Regions from separate parts of the Homo sapiens genome. Here regions 1, 2, 3, 5, 6 and 7 are each linked to region 4. Evidence: promoter capture Hi-C in 16 types of primary human blood cells and fetal thymus (Javierre and others, 2016). All regions are on one chromosome and are shown on one strand. Each heading gives the region's core, a stretch centred on a gene start or on the middle of the fragment in contact. The rest is flanking DNA. Distances are from core to core; before and after follow the strand shown.

Region 1 (2,700 bases), core at 96-2,595, 350 kb before region 4:
ATGGTGGTGCTAAAGAAGACATAAATAATACAAAAATGAATGGTTTGACTGTGTTACAAAAGAATTTTATTGACAAAACATATGGTGAGACAGATTTGGTCCACAGGCCATAGTTTGCCAACATGTGCCCAAGTATGTAAGATGAGAATATAAGGCCATAAATTCTACTCTCTGCTTTATTCTTTTCCAGGTCACTTCTTACCAGTTGTAAATGTACTTACAAATTTTGCTATATGAAAACAGTTATGTCTGTTACTATCAATCTGTGTTCATTTTAAAGGGTGACAATCTACAAATTATGTGTTATAGACAAGTTGCAAGATGTTCACCAATGATTCCCACCTTGTGCTATACATGCCTTGGTGGAATTTCTTTCCACATTGTATCAAGGTTGCTCTGTGTGACCAATGAAATAAAGTGGAAATGATGATATTTCATTTCTGAGAATAGGTCATCAAAGATAGTATGACTTCCTTTTTCCTCTCTCCCAGATTACTTGATCTGGGGAAAACCAGTTATAATGTCATGAGCAGCCCTGTTGAAAGGACCATGCGGCAAGGAACTGAAGACTCTTACACACAGCCAGCAAGGAACTGAAGTCTATTTCCAATAGCCATGCTATGAGCCTTCTTTGCTTGTATAGGCTCCAGTCTTAGTCAAGCCTTCAGATGATTACAGCCCCCAGCCAACACCTTGACGGCAACCTCATGAGAGACCCTGAGCTAGGTCCATCGTGCTATGCTGTTCGAGGATTCCTCACTCTCAGAAGCTGTGTGAAATAGTAAAGTGTTTATTCTTTTTTTTTTTTTTTTTTTTGACAGAGTCTCACTCTGTCACCTGGGCTGGAGTGCAGTGGGGCCATGTCGGCTCACTGCAACTTCTGCCTCCTGGATTCAAGCAATTCTCCTGCCTCAGCCTCCTGAGCAGCTGGGATTACAGGTGTGCACCACCACTCCTGGCTAATTTTTTTGTATTTTTAGTACAGACGGGGTTTCACCATGTTGGTCAGGCTGGTCTTGAACTCCTGACCTCAGGTGATCTGCCTACCTCACCCTCCCAAAGTGCTGGGATTACAGGCGTGAGCCACTGCGCCCAGACATAACTTTTATTCTTTTAAGTCACTAAATATTAACGTGTCACATAGCAATAATCAATACATATTTTGGTACCAAGAATGAAGTTACTATTATAAAGAAAAAAAAAAACCACTAAAATTTTGGAGTGCTTGAAAACAGGCAGTGGATGGAGGCCAAAAGGACAGGAAAGACTGAAACCTTCTAGTATGGGCTTATAGTAGGGAAGTGAAAACATATTAGAAACTGGAGAAAGTAAAAATCTTTCTATTTAGTACCAGAAAGTTTAGCAACACTTTTGTCTGTAGCATTGTGGAAAGTAGAAAATGTACTTAATGATTTAAGAGAATGCTCTAAACTTATTTCCAACTAGAGTGTTGAATATCTTGTCTGATTTCTTCCTACTACTTATATTACAATGCTATAGAACACACATAAGCTAATGGAAGGGCTGTTGAGCAAAAGAAGACAGAACTTGATAGTTTTGAGATTCCTGGACTCTCAAATGTTAGCATGTCAAAAATGCTAAAATTGAGAAATAGATTCTGAGCAAAGATCCAATCTAGAGTGCTCTCAGGAAAGCATGATTCTAAACAAGAAGGTGTGGGTGTGACTGAAATTTCCTGTAAATATCATAGAAAGAACACAAGTAGTGCCTCAATTCAGTCAGATGAAGATCTATAAAGGTCAAATAATAGGGCTTCTAGGAAGCCCCAGGGTATTGTCCCTCAGGTATCTCAGCAGAAGCTCCAGGTAGAGAGAAGATTGAAGAGATTTATGTGTGCGGTTTTTACAAATAGAGTTCATAGAAAACCTCAAAACACTTTTGAGATGACTATGTCAGTAGAAAATTGACAATGAATTGCTACCTTTTATTCAAAAGTAAGAATAATTCAAAGGACAGAACTAAGAGCCTGTAAGGTGGATCCAAGAGTTATGAAGAGTGATTTTATAAGCAGAAATAGGACTGAGTCCTAATCAAATGAGTCCCGACATTTGCTATGCTAGATTTTAAATTATTATGCATCAGTGACTCCTTTGTAATTCTCATGCCCCTCCCTCTTTTGAACAAGGATGTCTATAGTTTGTTCTTTCGAATGTTGAGTGTATAAGGGAAGGAAATCTCTAGTATTGTTAATTTCACAAGCCTTCACATGGAGAAAAATGATACTCAAGAAGCTAAACTTAAGGAACTTCACCTGATGAGTCTCACTCATACCTGGATGTGACAAATTTCGGACTTTGAACTGACATTGTAACGGAATGAGATTTGGCAGTTGGTGTGGATTTTGTATGTGGGAGGGACATAAATCATTTGGGGCCAAAGATTAGACTCTTGTAAACAGCTTCCTATATGCTCCCAATGATCCCTGTTTCTTGGAATTTAACCCTTTTGATATAATCAATTACATTGTATAAGGGTTGATCACTGTGACCAAGAGAATAAGGCAGAAGTTATCGCATATCACTTTTGAGGCTAGATTATAAAAGACAGTATGTCTTTGGCGTTGCCCTTTCTCATATCATCTGATTTGGTGGAAGCCAGCTACCTTGTCGTGAGCAACTCTTTTAAGCGTTCCATGTGGCAAAGAACTGAGGCCTCCTATAAACAGCTAGCAAGGAACTG
Region 2 (2,700 bases), core at 105-2,604, 440 kb before region 4:
ACTCCTTGATTTAACCCACTGCCACTACTAGGACCAGTGGCACTCACTAATTCACCATAAATTGGGTAAACAGTTACCTTGTTTTTATTAATCTTTCTTAAATGTATGTATAACTCACATTTATTTAAATGTTAAATATTAGAAATGTTTGGGTCTTGGCTGGGTGTCGTGGCTCACGCCTGTAATCCCAGTACTTTGGGAGGCTGAGGCGGGTGGGTCACCTGAGGTCAGGAGTTCGAGACCAGCCTGGCCAACATGGTGAACTCCCATCTCTACTAAAAATACAAAAATTAGCGAGGCATGGTGGCGGGTGCCTGTAATCCCAGCTACTTGGGAGGCCGAGGCAGGAGAATCGCTTGGACTTGGGAGGCAGAAGTTGCAGTGAGCTGAGATCATGCCACTGCACTCTAGCCTGAGCAACAGAGTAAGACTCTGTCTCAAAAAAAAAAAAAAAAAAAAAAAGAAAAAAGAAATGGTTGTGTCTTTTCTGACCAGAAACATGCTGTGGGAAAGTAACTCTTGTTTATATCAATTAGCCTATGATCAAATTAGTCTCATTACATGTTATTTTGCCTAAAGTCATAGTTACCAAGAATCTATTGATGTTAAGTGAGGACTTACTGTACAGAAAACAGCATTTTAAACACAGTTTTATCTATGCAAATGGAATCTTGAGACTACTAGATAAAGTGTTATGAATGAGAGAAATTAACAATCAGTATAAAAATAAGTCTACAATCCAGCATATCTCAGCCTAACAAGGAATGAAGACCTGGGGACCATGATTCGGGTATTTTGTTTGTAACAGATTTATTGGGGCCTATCCAAGGAAAAGTTAAAAATGATCCTTTGAGTTTTTAAAATTTTATTTATCTATGTATGTATGTATTTTCTGAGACACAGTTTCACTCTGTCGCCCAAGCTGGAGTGCAGTGGCACAATATTGGCTCACTGCAACCTCCGCCTCTGGGGTTCAAGTGATTCTTGTGCCTCAGCCTTCCTAGTAGCTGGAATTACAGGCACGTATGTCACCATACCTGGCTAATTTTTGTATTATTAGAAGAGATGGTTTTGCCATATTGGCCAGGCTGGTTTTTTCGTTTTTTTTTTTTTTTTTTTTTTAGATGAAGTCTCACTCTGTCACCCAGGCTGGAGTGCAGTGGCACAATGTCAGCTCACTGCAACCTCCGCCTCCTGGGGTCAAGCGATTTTCCTGCCTCAGCCTCCCCAGTAGCCAGGATTACAGGCGCCTGCCACCATACCTGGCTAATTTTTGTATTTTTAGTAGAGATGGGATTTCACCATGTTGGCCAGGCTGGTCTCGAACTACCAGCCTCAAACTCCACCCACCTCGGCCTCCTAAAGTGCTGGGATTACAGGCGTGAGCCACCGCGTCTGACCTCTTTTAATTGTTATTTTTTGAAGTTGGATAATATTGGTTTTTTACAATCGGCTTATGACTGCTCTAATGTTGGGAGTTTTGTTTGTTTGTTCTTCAAAAACAAAAACAAAAACCCTGGGTCTTTATTGCTACATTCAATTAAAATCCCTATCCATCCTACTGAACAAAATCAATCTCTGCAGTGCTTTCCAACCCTGACTGCACATGACCATCAGTGGTGAGCTCCCAAAAACGTCTGATGGCAGAGCCCCACTTCTGCATCACTCTTGGGGAGGACACCGGAGGGTTTGGCATCCATACTTTTAGTTTTTTTAATTTTTCCCCCCACCGCCCCCTCCCTATGCTATAGGCTCCTTTTTATTGAGGTAAAATTCACATAATGTAAAATTCATGGCATCTTTACTTTTTACAAGCCTCTTAAGTGATATGTATAGCCAGGGTTGTGGTCGACTCAACTGGGTGCTCTTTGTTTAACAACACATTGGGAACAGTTCTGGAAATAGCCGCTTGTGATGGTTAAGTTTATGTGTCAACTTGACTGAGCTATAGGGATGCCCAGATAGGTAGCGAAACATTATCCGTGGCTGTTTCTGTAAGGGTGTTTCCGGAAGCGGTTAGCGTTTGAATCAGTAGACCTAGTAAAGAAGATCCTCTCCCACCAATGTAGGCAGGTGTCACTCAATCCATTGAGGGCCTCCATCGAACAAAAGTTAGAGGGTAGAGAGTCCCTCTTTCTGTCCATGAGCTGGGACATCCACAGCTCCTGGTCTCAGACCTTTAAACTTGGATTGAATTATACCACTGACTTTCCTGGTTCTCCTGCTTGCAGACAGATGGTGAGGTTTCTCAGACTCCATAAGCCTCCATGAGCCAATTTCTATAAGAATAATAAATCTCTCTCTTTATTTATATGTAGATATTTATATACATATAGTCTTTATATGCATTTATATCTAGTCATGTGCTACATATAGATATTTCAGTCAATGACAGCCTGTATACATGATGGTTATCCCATAAGATTATAACACCATGTTTTTACTGTACCTCTTCTATGTTTAGATATGTTTATATACACAAATACTTACCATTGTGTTCCAATAGCCTGTGCTGTTCACTCCAGTAATGTGCTGAATGGGTGTGTAGCCTAGGAGCAATAGGCTATACCGTATAGCCTAGGTGTGTAGTAGTTATATCGTCTAGGTTTGTGTAAATACACTCTATGATGTTCACACAATGATGAAGCCCCCAATAACACATTTCTCCGAACATTTCCCCATCCTTAAGTGACACATGGC
Region 3 (2,700 bases), core at 47-2,546, 500 kb before region 4:
GGGCCAAAATATTTGATTCCAATGTTTGTTTGCTAATTTCATTAGCAGACTGTTTCTATATGGTGTCTTTTACGAATCAGATATATTCTCTTTTGATTTTCACTGTTTTATCTGGCAATGGATCTAAGAATTTTGGGGTGAATCACATATGGCTCCCATTTCCAGCGATGGTGTGTCCTGGGTGATTTTAGAATTTATCTGGGGCTACTAGTTCATGCAGTGCCAGTGTAACGTAGCAGCAGAGAGCACTTTGAATGCAGAAAGAGCTAGTTTCAGTACTTTCCTTTAGTCTACAATCTTGGGAAATCTTAATACTTTGAATCTATGTCTTTGTCTGGAAATTAGGGATAATGTCTACCTGATAACATTGTTATAGGAATTCAAATGACATGTCTGGAAATTAGGGATAATGTCTACCTGATAACATTGTTATAGGAATTCAAATGACATGCTGGGTAAAAATAATAAGCTTTTTTACACTAGGTTTGTGAAAAATGTCACGTTGCTATAGGAATTCAAATGACACGCTGGTTAAAAATGACAAGCTTTGTACTTGGAGCATAATAAGAAGCCAATAAATAATAATTATTAGTATAGTACTAATATTCAGCACAGTTGAATTACCCATCAAATAATGTATTTCAGTAAAATCCATGATTGACTCATGTCACAAAGACGCTTACATGAGAGACCCATAAGTATGTCTATATGTATTTACTGATAGAATACTTTTCTATTTTCCCTTGACAACCTCCTAACCAGATATATATCTATTAGAGATGTCTTCTGAAGGAAGTATTTATAAGCAAAATGATATGATATCTGGCATTTACTTTAAATTACTCCAGGAAAAAAAAGTGCAAAGAAAAGAATACACAAAGGAAGAATGGAAAAATAAATACATAAATAAAACATATAGGAAACTATTAGGAAAAATTACCAATATTGACAGCCTAATTAGGATTCCATTTCCCTCCTCCTCCCTGTTTCCTATATTCCTTTTATTATGTGCAGAGTATTTGAGAACAAATTGAAAAAGTTGGCCAGGTGCAGTGGCTCATGCCTGTAATCTCAGCACTTTGGGAAGCTGAGGGGGGGGGTGGATCACTGAGGTCAGGAGTTCGAGACCAGCCTGGCCAACCTGTTGAAACCCTGTCACCACTAAAAATACAAAAGTTAGCTGGGCCTGGTTGCAAGCCTATAATCCCAGCTATTTGGGAGGTGGAAAATGAAAATGCTTTTCATTTTCAGTGAGCTGAGATTGTGCCACTGTACTCCAGCCTGGGCAACAGAGCGAGACTCCCTTTAAAAAAAAAAAAAAAAAAGAATTAAAAAATACTGAAACGATATCACACTGAAAAGGGCACATTATCATTTCTACAGTGACTCAGTTATTTTGGATGCCATGAATATTATAGAACATAAAGTGTTTACCATTTCAACCATTTTTAGGTGTACTGTTCAGTGGCATTAAGTACATTTACATTGTTGTGCAGCCATCACCACCATCCATCTCCAGAACTTTTCATCTTCCCCAACTGAAACTCTATACCCACCAAGCAATAACTCCTGTGATGGTGAATTTCATGTGTTTTGTTTGTTTGTTTGTTTGTTTGTTTTTGAGATGGAGTTTCACCCTTGTTACCCAGGGTGGATTGCAATGGCATGATCTCGGCTCACTGCAACCTCCGCCTCCTGGGTTCAAGCAATTCTCCTGCCTCAGCCTCCTGAGTAGCTGGGATTACAGGTGCCCGCCACCCCTCCCGGCTAATTGTTTTGTATTTTCAGTAGAGACAGGGTTTCACCATGTTGGCCAGGCTGGTCTTGAACTCCTGTCCTCAAGTGATCCGCCTGCCTCAGCCTCCCACAGTGCTGGGATTACAAGCGTGAGCCACCGTGCTGGCCTTCTGTGTCTTCTTGACTGGGTCATGGGGTTCCCAGACAGGATGCTTTTAAATGAGATTAACATATTAATCAGAAGAGGAAAGTAGATTTCGCTGCATAATGTAGGTGGGCCTCATCCAAAAGTTGAAGGCCTAAAGAACAAAAAGCTTCTAACCTTCCCCCAAATAAGAAAGAATCCCCCAGCTGTCTATGGACTGGAACTCAGCCATCAACTCTCCCAGTTCTCCACTCGCTGGCCGAGTCTGGCAGCCCACACTCCAGATTTTAAATTACCAGGCTCTATAATCATACAAGCCAATTCCTTATAATAAACCTATTTCTATGTATGTACACAGCGTATTGATCCTCTTTCTCTGCACAGACCTAATACAAATCCCAATTCCTTTCTCCTTTCTTGGAAACCACCGTTCCATTTTTTTGTTTCTATAAATTGGTTTATTTTAGGCACCTCATACTGGTGGAATCATATAATATTTGTCCTTTTGTATCTAAATTATTTTATTTAGCATTATGTCTTCAACAATTATCAATGTGGTAGCATGTGTCAGAATTTTGTTCCTTTTAAAGTCTGTATAATATTCCATTGTATGTATAAACCACATTCTACATTTTATTTATCCATTGATGGACGTTTGGGTTTATCCTGTTTTTAAAGATCAGTGGGATAGTTTCTACAGTCCTTGTGTGGCAGATAACTGGACAGATTTGAAAAATTTTAGAGGGCTCTCATTATTCCTGCCTCCTGGTGTTCATGATCTTGTGTAATCCTTCCCCTTGAGTGTGAGTGAGACCTAT
Region 4 (2,700 bases), core at 49-2,548:
GGTACCTTGTTACAGCAGCCCTAGCAAACTCACACAGTAATGGAGGCACTGAACGAAAAAGTATATGATTTTCATTGAAGCAAATACTTCATGATGTCTCATTGAAAGACCTAGCTGCCCCCTAGCTAGCTGTCAGTGGAGATTCCGGTGCATTGAGGGGGAAAAACCAGGTAGACAGCACAGAGTTCTGTTTCCAGGTGTATTTCAGTTGAGCTGTGCTGCACATTACAGTAACTCGACTCCTTTATTGCCACTACTTCCCACCGAGTGGGAAGGAAGTGTGGTCTCATAGGTATAAGAAACTCCAATGTGGAGAGGACCCATTACAGAAGGAAGCAACAATCGCATAAATGAAAGAAAGAAAGGGGGGATGAAGGGTTGATAGAGAAAAATGAAAGAGGAAAAAAGACATTGAAAAGAAAACAGAGGCTAAAATGGTGAAACCCCGTCTCTACTAAAAATACAAAAAAATAAATAGCCGGCCGTGGTGGTGGGAGCCTGTAATCCCAGCTACTTGGGAGGCTGAGGCAGGAGAATCGCTTGAACCTGGGAGGCGGAGGTTGCAGTGAACCGAGATCGCGCCATTGCACTCCAGCCTGAGTGACAGAGCAAGACTCCCTCCCCCACTCCCCACCCCAAATAAAAAGAAGGAAAGAAAACAGAGATTCAGTCAACAAGGGATAGCACATCAGGCTGTACACTTTTAAAGCATGGTTATTGATATCTCATTTAAATATCGCAACAACCCTGGAAAGTAATTACCGTATTTATGCTTTGCAGATGAGGAAGCCGAAGCTGAAAGCAACGATTCCATGGTCTGAAAGGCTATGCAGTCCTCTGACAAGTAATTCCTGTAACCTCATTCTTTCCCTTCCCCCTCTCCTGATGGCCCCCTCTCCAGGAATAAACAGAGGTCCCCCATTCCTGGGTTTTCTCATGTTTCTCTCTGCACCAAATCTGCTGAGTCAGGTTTACTCCCTTATCATATAGAAACACAGAAGCCAAACCCCACAAGATGCTGGTTCCGAAGAAACACAGGTTAATTCACTTGGTGATTTCTGTTTGTTCACATAAACACCCGTTCCGCTCCCAGCCTCTTCCCTTTTTCTCCCTCCCCAACTGCAAAGTCCTCCCCCAGCTGCCTCGCTGCCATTCCCTTCCCACCTTCTTTACCCTCCCCGCCGCGCCCGCCCCCCATACCCCGTTCACTACCGTGTCCCTCCTCTGGTCACTCCGGTTTCCGATGGCACCGGCCCAGTCGGAGGGGAAATAATGACAGGGTTGGGTAGGGCAAGGTGTGCCAGCCTCAAGGAAATGCTTTTCAGTCCCTCCTTCCCACTGCGGGGCGTGGCTGCCGGCAAAGGATGGAGTTCGGGCGGGCTCCCGCGAAGGGAAGTCTGCGGGCTCCGAGGTTTCCGGGACTCGCCACACTCGAGCCACAGGAAACCTCTGCTGCAACTGTAAAGGCTGGACTTGTTGCTGATCTATACTCATTTCCTACTCTAGTGATTGCTAGATGTCAGGTATCACGGTGACTCCAGTCCAGGTGAAAACGGAGTCACGATACAGGGCAACAGCGCCACCTCACGGCCGGCCCCGTAGCAGCGGCCTCCATTGGCGCCTAAAAATGGTCAGGATTCACATTCAGGTGGATTATTCCGCGCCAGGAACATTCTCCACCTGAAGGCTTTGCCGGGGTGTTACAAGATAATACTGAAGGGACGGGAGTGGTGGCTTACGCCTGTAATCCCAGAACTTTGAGAGGCCAAGGCGGGTGGATCACCTGAGGTCAGCAGTTCGAGACCAGCCTGGCCAACGTGGCGAAACCCCGTCTCTACTAAAAATACAAAAATTAGGCGTGATGGCGGGCGCCTATAATCCCAGCTACTCAGGAGGCTGAAGCAGGAGAATCTCTTGAACCCAGGAGGCAGAGATCGCATAGAGCCGAGATTGTGCCACTGCATTGCAGCTTGGGCGACAGAGCAAGACTCCGTCTCAGAAAAAAAAAAAAAAAAAAGAAAAAAAAAAGTACTGACCACTGCGGAGACGTGGGGGAACCTATAAGGAATTAATGAGAATTAAAACCCCAAGATTACGTAATAGATCATTCATTTAGAGCCCGCGCGCGCGCGCGCGCGCACACACACACACACACACACACACACACATATATCCCATTATGTCCTGGGTTCTCCTCTGGGGAAACAGTGAACAAGGTAGTTATGTTACCCGTCCACATGGAAACTAAAATAATAGAAAATACTTAAGACAATAGATAGCTGAAGGAATTCTGTTAGATATTAACACCTAATACAAATTCAATTAAAGAAATAAGAGTCATAGGTAACTTGAATATGTGACCAATTTATTCAGCATTGAACGCATACCAAACACAAACTGACAGTCATTAGAGCAAAAAGAACTTGAGTCAATGTAATGTGGCATATTTAGAGATTGAGGTATGTCAGTTCTCTAGAGCTTTCTCTATTGGCATTTTCACTTCCTTCAGGGCTTTTTAAAAACAGGATGAATTGTACTTAATGCCACTGAACTGTTCATTTTTAAATGGCTAATGGTTGATTTTATGTTATGTGAATTTTACCTCAAAAGGGGAAAGGAAGACATCTCATCAGTTAGTTGTTCTTTAGATTCTTTATGTCATAAGTGATACATCAAATCCAAATGAACTGATTGGAACTT
Region 5 (2,700 bases), core at 91-2,590, 430 kb before region 4:
TTAGTTGGTTAACATTTATAATTTATTTTTTTCAAACATCTTATCCAAGTAGATGTGTTAAATTTTATATGCTTACACTTTTTGTGTAAGTAGATGTACTAATTTTTGTATAACATTTTTAGAAAATTTAATACCTTTCCATCTTAGGCTTGATGCAGTGTTTTGTGTGTTTTTTAAGACTTATTCATTTTTATAATAGAGTTTGCTTCACTTTCATATTTTATTTTCTTTAATCTAATTTAGTGAGTCTAAGATACATTGTGGTATAGTTTGGCTCTGTCCCAAACCAAATCTCATCTTGAATTGAAGTTCCCCTAATCCCCACATGTCATGGGAGGGACCAAGTGGGAAGGTAATTAAATCATGGGAGCAGTTGCACCCATGCTATTCTCATGATAGTGAGTGAGTTCTCATAACATCTGATGGTTTTATAAGGGGCTTTTCTCCCTTTACTTGGCATTTCTCTGTCCCGGCCACCCAGTGAAGAGGGACGTATTTGCTTCCCCTTCTGCCACGATTGAGACCTCTGCAGCCATGCAGAGCTGTGAGTCAATTAAACCTCTTTCCTTTACAAATTACCCAGTCTCGAGTATGTCCCTATAGCAGCATGAGTACGGACTAATACATATTGTTTTTTACATTTTAATGTCTCTGAAATTAGCATGCCTCTCAAAATATATGAAGTCTTACAGTCACTGCTGGCCAGGAGACAGTTGCAATGTGCACATGCGTGACCTTGATTTTCACTGGTGCTAGTGTCACTGCTTCAGTGAAGTTATGTACATTGTTGGTCCTGCATGTTTTACTCATCACATCATTTAGACACCGTCATAGGATGGAATGGAAATTCTCTGATCCTGTTTTTTTCCCCACAATTTTTCTAATCCTGTTTTAAAAAAAAATCTATGAGACTTTTACAGATCAAGAAATCACCATCAAAAAACTCTAAATAATGAGCATCAGAAGCTACAAAGAAAATCTTGGAGACATTAGAGGGGCACTCTTTTTAAAAAAATGGTACATGACTATTGTTCTTTATGGCACAGAAAACAATATTGTGTTGAAAACAATTATGGTAATGATAAGTATGTTTTGTCTGCTTTATTGACACTAATAAACTTCTTAATATTTTATTTTTATGTTTATTTTATTGTGTGAAATCAGTTTTATTTAAATGTATTTTCTTTTCCTTCCTTCCTTCCTTCCTTCCTTCCTTCCTTCCTTCCTTCCTTCCTTCCTTCCCTTCTTTTCTTCTTTTCTTTCTTTTTTTTTTTTCAGAGTCTCTCTCTGTTGCCCAGGCTGGAGTGCAATGGCGTGATCTCGGCTCACTGCAACCTCCGCCTCCTGGGTTCAAGTGATTCTCCTGCCTCAGCCTCCCAAGTAGCTGGGATTACAGGTGCCCGCCACCACACCCGGCTACTTTTTGTATTTTTAGTAGAGATGGGGTTTCACCATGTTGTCTAGGCTGGTCTTGAACTCCTGACCTCAGGTGATCCACCCACCTCGGCCTCCCAATGTGTTGGGATTACAGGCGTGAGCCACCATGCCTGGCCATAAGTATACTTTCCGCTTGATGATTGCACTTTTTGTTTTCTTTGAATCATATGCTTAGATAGAACATCATTACCATTCTGTTACAATGGAGATTTTAACATGTTCACACTTGAAAATATCAATTTTGAATTCCATTTGCATCTATAATTATATCAGGTTTAAACTCACATACAATAAACTATATACGACGGATAATGTGTCCTCTATTATTCTACCCATAAACAAAGTAAATGTATTTCCAAACATGGAGTCATTGGCATCAGCCAACCGGTGGGGGAGATTCTAAATTAGGCTTAACAGGGGACAGGGGAGTTGCTAACATCCCTTACAGTAAACTACTGAGGCAGTCCTTGATTCTGCCACATTATGAGGATTTTATACATAAGGTATTTCATGAAAGAAAGAGAAATAGTAAAACTGCACCAAAGGAGAAACAGTATTGAATTGCAAACAAAGAAGACAGAAGAAACAATAACAACAGTTAACAATGCTTTCTCATTCAATCCCTAGAAAAACCTTGTGATGAGGATACTTTTATCCCCTTCATTTTACAGATGTGGAAAAAGTAGATTAGGGAATTCAACTGGACCAAAGTTATAAATATAGTAAGTGACACAACTCAAACTAATATCTTGCCTTCTCTGGTATCAAACTTGTGCCCTTATCATATATCAAAATGCTTCCAAGAAAATTAAATATACGGTTTGCAACCAGTGGAGAAACTCTTGGGGAAATCGTCAATTTTTTAAAAAAGAATTTATTGAGAAGCATCCTTGAAACAACTTGAAAAAAGAGTAAGAAATTATTTCATACTTAATTTTCTACAAAGAACAAAATAATGAATCTCACATTTATCACACATATGCAGTGAGAAGGACTCCTGGAGGCTGTAGCAGTCAGTGCCTTTCACACAGGAAGGGACCCTTACTCTGAGCTCTGCTAAGCAGAAGGGTGGTAGTGTCCCATGGTGGCTCGTAATGCATTTCTTGACCCAATGACTTCCTTTGTGGTTTCATCAGAGTTCGCAGGAGCTGCCATCACTCTAGCTTTATGGTTTTCAACTCTAACAAAGTGAGGAGTATAGTAGTCCTTTTGTTTTCTCGAAGACCATTAGGATCACTTGTTGTACATACGTTGTCCGTCATG
Region 6 (2,700 bases), core at 48-2,547, 380 kb before region 4:
TCCTTGATTCACGGACTGCCGAATGGATATTGTGTTAGCAGGCTTGAAAATGACATGAATTTCTTTGTACGTCTTCATCAGAGCTCTTGGGTGACCAGGCTCATTCTCAATGAGCCATAACATTTTTAAAGAAATCTTTTTTTCTGAGCACTATGTCTCAACAATGGGCTTAAAATATGTAGCAAACCATGTTGTAAACAGACATGCTGCCATCTGGACTTTGTTGCTCTATATAGAGAGCACAGGTAGAGTAGACTGAGCATAATTCTTAAGGGTCCTAAATTGTTTGGAATGGTAAATGAGCATTGGCTTCAACTTAAGTCACCAGTTAGCCCCTAACAAGAGAGCCAGCCTGTCCTTTGAAGCTTTGAAGCAAGACACTGACTTTTCCTCTCTAGTTATAAAAGTCCTAGATGGCTTTTCCAGAAGCCTGTTTCATGTACACTCAAAATCTGTTGTTTAGTGTAGCCACCTTTATCAATTATCTTAGTTAGATCTTCTGGATAACTTGCTGTAGCTTCTTCATCAGCACTTACTGCTTCACCTTGTACATTTCTATTATTTAGATGGCTTCTTTCTTTAAATCTCAAGAAGCAACCTCTGCTAGTTTCCAATTTTTTTTTTTTCTGCAGCTTTCTCACCTCTCACAGCCTTCATAGAATTGAAGAGTTAGCGCCTTAGGCTTTGGCTTAAAGGAACATTGTGTGGCTGGTTTGATCTTTGATACAGACCAGTAAAACTTTCTCCATATATATATACACATATACACATAATTCGCATGCTCACTGGCATAGCAATTTTGATTTTCTTCAAGTACTCTTTCTTTGCATTCACCATTTGGCTAAATGTTTGACTCAACAGGCCTTTCGGCCTATGTGGGCTTTCAAAATGCCTTCCTCACTAAGCTTATTCATTTCTGGCTTTTGATTTAAAGTAAGAGATGTGTGACTCTTCCTTTCACTTTTACTCTTAGAGGTCATTGTAATGTTATTAACTGGCCTAATTTCAGTGTTGTTGTGTTTCAGGGAATTGGGAGGCCTAAGGAAAGGTAGAGAGATGGACAATCGCTGGCCAGTGAAGCCGTCATAACACTTACATTCATCAATTAATTTCATTATGTTATATGGGCATTGTTTGTTGCACCACAAACCCATTTCAACAGTAACATCAAACATCACTGATCACAGATCACCATAAAAGATATTGCAATAATAGTAAAAAAGTTTTAAATATTGCAAGAATTACCAAGATGTGAGGCAGAGACAGGAAGTGAGCACATGCTTTAAAAAAAAAATGGCACTGATAGACTTGCTAGAGGTAGGGTTGCCACAAAACCTCAATTTGTAAAAAATGCCACACCTGTGAAGCACAATAAAGTGAAGTGCAGTAAAATGAGGTGTGTGTGTATTATCACTGGGGAAACCCAACAGCAGGGACAAGGGAGGTCCCTAAGCTATTTTTGTAACTTTTTTTGTTAATCTATATTCATTTGAAAATAAAAACTGAAAAAAAATCTCAGGGGTTAACAGGCAGTATTTTTATTCCCTTGGTATGAACGCTAGCTATCCTCACTTTCCTTTTCTTCTTATGTCTCAGCCACATTGTTGATTCTGCCTCTCCTACTTAATAAATGGTCGCTGTACATCAAAGATGGTAAATTCAGAGATGGTGGATGTGCTGTTTCCAAATCAAAGCTTGTGAAAGTCATTGCTACTCTTTCTTTCTTGATGAATATGGACTTGAAGATTTCTCTATACAACGCACCCAAATATGTGTTCTTTACTCTTGTCTTTTCCCAAATACTGTATTTTAACATGAATTTGCACATGTAAATCCATGGTGGACTCATTCAGGAAGATCCATCTTAAGAAAAACAAAAAGCAAAATAAAAACAAGCAAGTATGAAGAGGAGTTACCAGTTTGTCAAAGTGCATCCTCCTAGAAGTTTAGTACCTCAAAATTTCCTCTAGATAATCATTCCTACCCATTTTTTTGTTCGTTTTTTTGAGAAGGAGTCTCACTCTATAGCCCAGTCTGGAGTGCAATGGCATGATCTCGGCTCACTGCAACCTCTGCCTCCCAGGTTCAAGCAATTCTCCTGCCTCAGCCTCCTGAGTAGCTGGGACTACAGGCCCATGCCACCATGCCTGGCTAATTTTTTGTATTTTTAGTAGAGACAGGGTTTCACCACATTGGCCAGGCTAGTCTCAAAACTCCTGACCTCACATGATCCACCTGCTTTGGCCTCCCAAAGTGCTGGGATTATAGGTGTGAGCCACTGCACCCGGCCCCCATTTTGTTTTGACTGAAGTTGGACCCACTCTGATATCCAAATTGGGTCCCAACTGAGCCAATCAGTGTATCTTATCCACTGCCCAGGGTAATTTGTGTCCTGCCTATTTAGTGTCAAGGTCATGAAAGTGAGTTCTTGGATGAAGCTTGACACAAAACAATTTATATTATGTGACTATATACGTTATAGTAAGATAAATTATCAAACCAGGCAAAACTGAACTGTACAGGGTTAGAGGTCAAGACAGCGCTAACATCTATAAAGAGAAAGAGGGTAGTAATTGGAAGGTTAAATGAGGAGAGCTTTTGAAGATTCTGGAAATGTTCTATTTCTCGACTTGGATGGTAGTTACAAGAGTGCTGCCTCTCATAAATTATTAAATTTTGTGCTTTTAGTATTTGTCAATA
Region 7 (2,700 bases), core at 95-2,594, 400 kb before region 4:
GGGGGAAGCTGATTTAGTTTAAGTTTACCTTATCCGAAGCATGTAGTTAGGGTTAGGTGTTGCGGGAATTGTTGAGTTACTTGAGAAACCAGGTATTCAAAGTTCACAGTTACAATGGAATGTTATTTTAGTCATACCTCTAATATCAAGTGAGATAATATGCAAAACTGCGTTTGTATATCCTCCACTCTTTTTAAGATAAACTTTTATGATAATAAAAATTACCAATTAGATAAATCAATTAATATTTTTCCCTCTGAAATATGACAAACATACAGGAAAGGACAGAAAACATATATGTAGAGATTAATGAATAATGATAAAAGTTAAGTAAAGATAGATATTACCACACCCCAGAGTGTTTCCTGCATTGATCCTCCTTATTACAATGCTTCCTCCTAGAATTAATCATTCTTCTGATTTTCTTGCTTCTTATGCACATATTCTTAGTAGCTTTTTTGCTTATTTTAATTATATTTGTGTGAATAGAATGAAACTATACTTTTTTTGCATTGTTTTATTCTGTATTTATTAGAGTTATCTGTGTTGCTGTGGACAGCTGTAGTTTACTTGTGTATGTAATTTCTTTGTATGATATACTCTCAATCAGTTTACTTACTCTACCTTTGATGGACATTTAATTGCTTTCTTTTCAGGACTATTATAAATAATAGTCCTTGGATGTTCTCTGTATTTCTTAAATTATCACCTCACTACACTTGTAATCTATATTTAAAATTATAATATGTTTTCTGTTCTTGTGCTTTGTTTGTTTGGATATTTAGTGACTAGGTCGGTATATGGGTATAAATGTTTATAAATTTCTCTAGGGTAGCCTTTGACATTTTCTGTTTATCACAGCCTTTTAGTATCTTTATCCTTTTGGCCTTTGCTCACTTCCTGTAAGAGAGATGGTTTAAGGGCAGTGATCAAAATTTGAAAATAACAACAAAATATCTTGGTATTGAGAATAAGAAATTTTTCTTTTTCTTTTTTTCTTTTGAATCGGAGTTTCGCTCTTGTTGCCCAGGCTGGAGTGCAATGGCATGATCTCTGCTCACCACAACCTCCCCGTCCCAGGTTCAAGCGATTCTCCTGCCTCAGCCTCCCGAGTAGCTGGGATTACAGGCATGTGCCACCATAAAATTTGACAAAAAAAAAAAAAAAGTAAAATAATGGTCAATTTCCAGTGATAATCAAGGTGAAATTTGAGAGCCTGATATGAATTAGCACCAGGAAGTTTGACCTCTATCCTCAGAATATGCAATCTGGACACAGAAAAAGAGAAGATGAAGTTTCTTTTTAAAAATTTTAATTATTCTTTTCTGCATACTTAGTGACAAGAGATGATGAAATTTAATTTAGCTGCATGCCACAGTTAATTAGGCGTATGTAATGGAAAATAAGAAATAAGTGGAAACAAAATCATTCAGATGACTCACCATTAAGTCTAGTTTTGTGTGGTTAGGGCATGGCAGTAGCAACAAATGAGAAAATAAAAGTCAAGCCTGAAGAAGAAATTAAGCAGAATGAATGAAATAAATACAAAGGCAAATGTTGGCCTCACAGAGTTTTTTTTTTTTTTTTTTTTTTTAGATATTTGATATTCCAAAGGTAGAGGTGGGTTTCTGATCTATCTCAAACATGCAGGGTACATGGAACTGTAGACTCACTGAGACTCACCCATTTAACTGTATCCCCACTACTGATTCTAATTGCATGAAATATTTAGACCTTTAATACATTCACTGAGCTAAGAAAAGCAAGGAGGAAGCGGAAAAGGGAAAAATATAAACAAATGTTATTAACTCCCTATTTGATAGTCATTTTAATTTTTATTATAGGGGAGAACTTAGTCCCTAAATAAATCAATTGCTATTTTGGTTTTGGATAGGTGGTGGTGTTTTTTTACTGAGTTTATTATTATTTTCCCACTTCATGGTGGAAAAGAATGAAGGAGAGTAGAATTTGGAAGCTGAATTTGTGAATTTGGGACTCAGTTCTGCCATTGATTGATTATGTTATGATATGCAAACAGCCTATATAAAAATGATTTTTTTACTTCACTTATTTCTTTTCTAAAATTGTATAAAAATATTTCACAGGTGATTCTGAGAATCACAATTAAAATGTATTTGAATACAATCTTAACTGTGATATACTATTTAGAAATTATAATTTTTATTTATTTTATGATATTACTTCAATTAGTCCCTCTGATTTTTAAAAATTAGTAGACTTTATGTTTTAGAAAAGTTTTAGATTACAGAAAATATTGATCAGTTAGTGCAGACTCAATCAACAGCTTAATTCCAACTGGTCTCATCAGAGAATGTGGACATCTGTATTTTACATGTACATCTGTGATTCCTTTCAGGTTAAATTTTGTGAAAGGTTTAAAGTCTGTGCACTATTTGATCTCTACCAGTGCTGCCTGGATTTATCGTTATTCTGGACATGACAACACAGCGACCATCATAGACTGGCAGAGAGTGAAGGACTGTTTCTTATGCAGAGGCTTCCACTGCATGCCAGACTTGTGGCCCCTGCCTAAGATGATCCTATTGTTTTCTGGAGGAGGAGACCACATTGCACAGGGTATTGCCCCTACTCACTTTTGGCAGATTAACTACAATGGATATTTGACCCTCTCTTGTAGCTGTCCGTTGAGCCTCACTCTGTGTGCGCTTTCCTAGGTGA

What was found. Contacts are between HindIII fragments. The CHiCAGO score rates a contact against its expected background, and 5 or more counts as called.
Region 1: a fragment that was not itself captured here is called in contact with the fragment with the promoter of STYK1 in region 4 in 5 of 17 cell types (endothelial precursors, total CD8 T cells, naive CD8 T cells and 2 more); the score reaches 8.0 in endothelial precursors.
Region 2: a fragment that was not itself captured here is called in contact with the fragment with the promoter of STYK1 in region 4 in 16 of 17 cell types (naive CD8 T cells, total CD8 T cells, total CD4 T cells and 13 more); the score reaches 29.1 in naive CD8 T cells.
Region 3: a contact is called between a fragment that was not itself captured here and the fragment with the promoter of STYK1 in region 4, in 1 of 17 cell types (naive CD8 T cells). The highest score is 5.5, in naive CD8 T cells.
Region 5: a contact is called between a fragment that was not itself captured here and the fragment with the promoter of STYK1 in region 4, in 3 of 17 cell types (naive CD8 T cells, total CD8 T cells and neutrophils). The highest score is 8.9, in naive CD8 T cells.
Region 6: a contact is called between a fragment that was not itself captured here and the fragment with the promoter of STYK1 in region 4, in 2 of 17 cell types (naive CD8 T cells and total CD8 T cells). The highest score is 10.8, in naive CD8 T cells.
Region 7: a fragment that was not itself captured here is called in contact with the fragment with the promoter of STYK1 in region 4 in 2 of 17 cell types (naive CD8 T cells and total CD8 T cells); the score reaches 6.8 in naive CD8 T cells.

Annotation. Positions count from the first base shown.
Region 1 is chr12:10,319,070-10,321,769 of GRCh38, forward strand. It overlaps KLRD1 (killer cell lectin like receptor D1), which reads left to right. Exons shown (of 6, transcript NM_002262.5): 6 at 1-2,700. Among named protein-coding and RNA genes, the nearest start is that of KLRD1, 13 kb to the left of the region's middle. The HindIII fragment of the contact is 3,098 bases long and covers 1-2,700 here.
Region 2 is chr12:10,229,966-10,232,665 of GRCh38, forward strand. No RefSeq gene overlaps it. Among named protein-coding and RNA genes, the nearest start is that of GABARAPL1-AS1, 16 kb to the left of the region's middle. The HindIII fragment of the contact is 8,341 bases long and covers 1-2,700 here.
Region 3 is chr12:10,172,457-10,175,156 of GRCh38, forward strand. It overlaps a transcript of OLR1 not described here and a transcript of TMEM52B not described here. Among named protein-coding and RNA genes, the nearest start is that of OLR1, 1.7 kb to the left of the region's middle. The HindIII fragment of the contact is 1,506 bases long and covers 544-2,049 here.
Region 4 is chr12:10,672,754-10,675,453 of GRCh38, forward strand. It overlaps STYK1 (serine/threonine/tyrosine kinase 1), which reads right to left and starts at 1,299. Exons shown (of 11, transcript NM_018423.3): 1 at 1,213-1,299. The HindIII fragment of the contact is 4,755 bases long and covers 1-2,700 here.
Region 5 is chr12:10,247,345-10,250,044 of GRCh38, forward strand. It overlaps a transcript of KLRD1 not described here. Among named protein-coding and RNA genes, the nearest start is that of GABARAPL1-AS1, 34 kb to the left of the region's middle. The HindIII fragment of the contact is 6,426 bases long and covers 1-2,700 here.
Region 6 is chr12:10,292,411-10,295,110 of GRCh38, forward strand. It overlaps a transcript of KLRD1 not described here. Among named protein-coding and RNA genes, the nearest start is that of KLRD1, 14 kb to the right of the region's middle. The HindIII fragment of the contact is 789 bases long and covers 904-1,692 here.
Region 7 is chr12:10,275,544-10,278,243 of GRCh38, forward strand. It overlaps a transcript of KLRD1 not described here. Among named protein-coding and RNA genes, the nearest start is that of KLRD1, 31 kb to the right of the region's middle. The HindIII fragment of the contact is 3,126 bases long and covers 1-2,700 here.